2 separate regions of the Homo sapiens genome follow, and region 2 is linked to region 1. The links are contacts of gene promoters, found by promoter capture Hi-C in blood cells and fetal thymus (Javierre and others, 2016). All regions are on one chromosome and are shown on one strand. Each heading gives the region's core, a stretch centred on a gene start or on the middle of the fragment in contact. The rest is flanking DNA. Distances are from core to core; before and after follow the strand shown.

What was found. Contacts are between HindIII fragments. The CHiCAGO score rates a contact against its expected background, and 5 or more counts as called.
Region 2: a fragment that was not itself captured here is called in contact with the fragment with the promoter of HTR3C in region 1 in 1 of 17 cell types (M1 macrophages); the score reaches 7.1 in M1 macrophages.

Annotation. Positions count from the first base shown.
Region 1 is chr3:184,051,765-184,054,464 of GRCh38, reverse strand. It overlaps HTR3C (5-hydroxytryptamine receptor 3C), which reads right to left and starts at 1,418. Exons shown (of 9, transcript NM_130770.3): 1 at 1,318-1,418. The coding sequence starts at 1,384. RefSeq lists an enhancer at 1-863. The HindIII fragment of the contact is 4,846 bases long and covers 1-2,152 here.
Region 2 is chr3:184,212,107-184,214,806 of GRCh38, reverse strand. No RefSeq gene overlaps it. Among named protein-coding and RNA genes, the nearest start is that of VWA5B2, 16 kb to the left of the region's middle. The HindIII fragment of the contact is 3,345 bases long and covers 1-2,700 here.

The DNA of each region.
Region 1 (2,700 bases), core at 169-2,668:
TATGAAAACTTGGCCTAAGTGCAATGGCAGCTACTTCCAGGAGTCCTTTAATGTACCCATCACAAGACTCTTGGCTCACCTAGCAGTAGAACTGCCCAAAACTTGTGGTCCAAGTCACCTAAAAATCGATGCTAATGTATTTCTCTCTCTAACTCTTAGGATCTTAAGTCTACTGAAGGCAAGAACTGATTTATCAAGAGGATAAGAGACATTTTACACAACTGCACTCACCAGGTAGATATGAGAAACACGGTAGGTATCTGACTGGGTGCTTACCTTGGTGCTATGCATTTATTTTGCTCTTCTCAGATTTAGTGACCTCAGTTGTCTCGTGGGTTATTTCTAGCATCGGGATCATGAGGTGACATCACTGAGCATACAGCATTTGTTCAGTCACAAAGTGAGGCCGGTGTGCCGGGCGCGGTGACTCACGCCTGTAATCCCAGCACTTTGGGAGGCCGAGGTGGGCGGATCACAAGGTCGAGAGATCGAGACCATCCTGGCCGACATGGTGAAACCCCATCTCTACTAAAAATACAAAAATTAGCTGGGCATAGTGGCGCTCGCCTGTAATCCCAACTACTCAGGAAGCTGAGGCAGGAGAATCGCTCAAACCCGAGAGGCGGAGGTTGCAGTGAGCCAAGATCGTGCCACTGCACTCCAGCCTGGGCGACAGAGCGACACTTCATGTCAAAAAACAAACAACAACAACAACAAAACCACAAAGTGAGGCCGGTGCAGATATTGTCTCTCGGCCATGGCCAGGGAGTCATCTGGGTAGTACCTGAGTGGCATCTTTGCTCCATCGCCATCATTATATGGTCCTTTTCTCTGCCTCCTTCTCTCTATCTCCATCTCTTTCCATAATATTTAAGGTATGTGTCCAGATTGGGAACAAATATTACCTCATGGAAGCAAAATATCTGCTCATTTCCACCTCAGATTGTCCCCTCCCTCAGGGCATGTTTAAAATCAGTGGCTACTCTTCTCATAGATATCATGTCAGGAGAAACAGAGACAAGGAGAGGGGGAAGAAGGGTGTGGTAGTGGAGCATCAGAAGTCAGTGAAAAGGTGGAATTGGAGAAGTGGTGAAATGAGACAGTTTGATAGATCCCTGTGCAGGCAGGAACAGAGAAAGTCTGTGTGCACTCATCAGTGAACTGTCTTTCTATCTGTCACCAAAAGGAAATCAGGACACAGACATTATGGAAGAAATATTTAACACATTAATTCTGAATGCCCTCCAAGTGCTAGAGGTGAGTCCAGGTGTCCCTCGGAACCACACTCTGGTCTTCCCTGTTCTCGTCCCATCTTACCTTGAAGCAGAAGACTGACAGTGAGGCAGAGGAGGGCACTCTGCCTTGCAGGCCACCCTCCTTCCATTCTTCTTTCTGGACTCTTCTCTGGGGATTCACCAGGAGCTCCCAAACCCTGGAGCTTAAAGGAGCTCAGACCACACCCTGGTTGCTGGTTTTGAATACTACTCATGGCAAGTGACCACTCCCTGTGACAGCCTGTGACCAGAGAGGTCCCAGCCAAGTGTCCTGCATTGGCTCTGCCCAGATGCACCTTCCGGGCTCCAGGCAGGCAGGAAATTGGGCGGACACTAGGGGAAAAGCATTCTATTTGGCAGCTGTGTGCTGAGATCCAAAACAAAATAACGTGCCTTAATGAGAGAATGTAGGCTGGGGAAATTAGGATTGTGTGCTTCCAAGACCAGGGAATCTGTGTGCACCAAGACCAGGTGCAATACTTAGTGATTTGGTTATGAATACCAAAGTATCTTTTTTTTTTTTTTTGAGACAGAGTCTCTCTCTGTCACCCAGGCTGGAGTGCAGTGGCACGATCTTGGCTCACTGCAACCTCCACCTGCCTGGTTCAAGCGATTCTCCTGCCTGCCTCAGCCTCCTGAGTAGCTGGGACTACAGGTGTGTGCCACCACACCCGCCTAATTTTTTGTATTTTTAGTAGAGACGGGGTTTCGCTGTGATAGCCAGGATGGTTTCGATTTCCTGACCTCGTGATCCACCCACCTCAGCCTCCCAAAACGCTGGGATTACAGGCGTGAGCCACCGCGCCCGGCCCCCTTACCAAAGTATCTTACAGCTTTTGTTGACATTGGAATTATTCCAAATGCCAAATTATAAAGCTTGGTTCATACCTTCATCATCTAGTGTCTATGCTTTTCCAGTAGCCCCTAACTAGATTTCCTCTTTACAGCGTCTCTGCCTTTCTGATTTATTCTCTCCAAACCAATGTTCTCCGTATAATTTTTAGGCTATGCACTGATTACATGATAATAGAACTCATAAAATTAAGATAGTAACACTTTGTGCTGTCAATAGTGTTAATATATAGCATTATTGTAAACTAGTAATCTCAGCTAACATCAATATCATTGGCATGTGTTAATATTATGTCTTATGTCACCACATTCCTATTAAAAAAAATTGGCTCAAATGAATGAATTGGAGCATTTTTATTTCAAGTATCTTAGCTACGTTTCCAGAAAGACTTGGACAGTTTTTCCTTGCAGAAAGGGTGAAGGGCCAGATGTAGAATACAAAAAAAACTTTGTTCAGAATTAGTGATCATGACAGCCCTAAGTAGAAAGTGCTGAGAAATGCAGGAATGACTTAGAGGCCCAAAGTAGGAAGGCACAGGAGAGGGCTGCAGTGGATTCCATTTGAGGTTTGCGG
Region 2 (2,700 bases), core at 168-2,667, 160 kb before region 1:
GTAAGACTAAAGGTAAAATGAACTGTACACAAGTACTGTACTCTTGTGGATACAGCTGTTTCCTTGAGGAAATAGGTTAACAATTGTTGAGATCACTCCACGTGTATCCTGGATTTGAACAATTAAGTTCCAGTGGTGCATGGTGGGAGGTAGATTTTTTTTTTTTTTTTTTTTTTTTTTGAGACGGAGTCTTGCTCTGTCACCCAGGCTGGAGTGCAGTGATGAGGTCTCAGCTCATTGCAACCTCCACCTCCTGGTTTCAAGTGATTCTCCTGCCTCAGCCTCCCGAATAGCTGGGACTACAGGCACCCGCCACCATGCCTGGCTAATTTTTTGTATTTTTAGTAGAGACGGGGTTTCACCATGTTAGCCAGGATGGTCTCGATCTCCTGACCTCAAGTGATCTGCTCTCCTTGGCCTCTCAAAGTGCTGTGATTACAGGCATGAGCCACTGTGCCTAGCCAAGAGGCAGGTTTTTGCTGTTAGAATGAGAGCATAGGCTGGGCGCAGTGGTTCACGCCTCTAATCCCAGCCTTTCGGAGGCTGAGGTGGGCGGATCACGAGGTCAGGAGATCGAGACCATCCTGGCTAACACGGTGAAACCCCCGTCTCTACTAAAAATACAAAAAATTAGCCAGGCATGGTGGCGGGCGCCTGTAGTCCCAGCTACTCAGGAGACTGAGGCAGGAGAATGGCATGAATCCGGAAGGCAGAGCTTGCAGTGAGCCAAGATCGTCTCACTGCACTCCAGCCTGGGTGGCAGAGCAAGACTCCATCTCAAAAAAAAAAAAAAAAAAAAGAAGAATGAGAACATATAGGTGAGCAAGGGGGAAAGGTCAGAATGATCCATGCAGTAATGGATTGGAGTTGGAGTCATCAGTATGAATCCATGTGTAGCTTACTGTAGATATAGATAGCCACATGTAAAAATATTTATAGGTATGTATTCATATACATAACACCATAATTATTTATGTGGTATACTTCAAAATACCAATAGAGTCAAGAAGCTGTTGTAATTAGTAAGAGAATTCACCAAGGTAGCCAGATAGAAGATCTACAAAAATCAATAGCGTATCTATTTTTTTTTTTTTGAGATGGAGTCTTGCTCTCTTGCCCAGGCTGGAGTGCAGTGGTCTGATCTTGGCTTACTGCAACCTCTGCCTCCTGGGTTCAAGCAATTCTCCTGTCTCAGTCTCCCAAATAGCTGGGATTATAGACGCCTGCCAGCAGACCTTGCTAATTTTTGTATTTTTAGTAGAGACAGAGTTTCACGATGTTAGTCAGGCTGGTCTTGGACTCCTGGCCTCAAGTAATCCACCCGCCTTGGTCTTCCAAAGTGCTGGGATTACAGGTGTGAGCCACTGCGCCCGGCCTCAATAGCATATCTCTATACCAGGTGTAACCAACTAGAAAATGACAATCAAAGAAGCCATTCACAATAATGACAAAAACTATAAAGTATCTAGGAACTTAATTAATATAAGACCTCTATAGCCAGGCGTGGTGGCTCATGTCTGTAATCCCAGCACTTCGGGAGGCCAAGGCGGGTGGATCACCTGAGGTTAGGAGTTCGAAACCAGCCTGACCAATATGGTGAAACCCCATCTGTACTGAAAACTACAAAAACTAGTCAGGTGTGCTGGTGGTGCCTGTAATCCCAGCTACTTGGGAGGCTGAGAATTGCTTGAACCCGGGAGGCGGAGGCTGCAGTGAGCCGAGATCACACCGCTGCACTCCAGCCTGGGCAACAGAGCCAAGACTCCATCTCAAGCAAAACAAAACACAGCAAACTCTGAAGAAAACATTAAAACTCAAAGTCCAATAGAAGTGTTATGGGGGAAAAAAACTCAAAGGGCACAGAAGATGATCCAAATAAAATAGAGAGATATTTCATTATCTTGGACAGAATGGCTTAATAACAAATGATATTAGTGTTCTCCCCAGTTAATGTGTGTATTCAATGCAATTCCACTTAAAATCCATGGGAATTTTCTGAAAAACTTAAACTTACTTTAGTATTTATTTGCAGAAGTTCATTTTCAAAATTAGCAAAGTCAATATATAAAAAGAAGAGTAAAGAGTGGGGCTTGGGCAGGGTGTAGTGGCTCACACCTGTAATCCCAGCACTTTGGGAGGCCGAGGTGGGTGGATCACCTGAGGTCAGGAGTTCAAGACCAGCCTGGCCAACATGGTGAAACCCCATCTATACTAAAAATACAAAAAATTAGCCGAGCGTGGTGGCACAGGCAGCATGTGCCTGTAGTCCCAGCTACTCAGAAGGCTGAGGCAGGAGGATCACTTGAATCTGGGAGGCAGAGGTTGCAGTGAGCCCAGATTGTGCCACTGCGCTGCAGCCTGGGCAACAGAGTAAGACTCCAACTCCAAAAAAAAAAAAAAAAAAAAAAAAAGAATGAGGCTTGCTCTACCAGATATCAAGACATACTACAAGACTAAAGACTACAGTAATCAGTCCGTGCGCAGTGACTCAGACCTGTAATCCCAGCATTTTGGGATGCCAAGGTGGGCGGATTGCTTGAGGTCAGGGGTTCAAGACCAGCCTAGCTAACATAGTGAAACCCCATCTCTACTAAAAAATGCAAAAAAATTTAGCCGAGTTTGGTGGCGCTTACCTGTATCCCAGCTACTCAGGAGGCTGAGGCAGGAGAATTGCTTGAACCTGGGAGGCAGAGGTTGCTG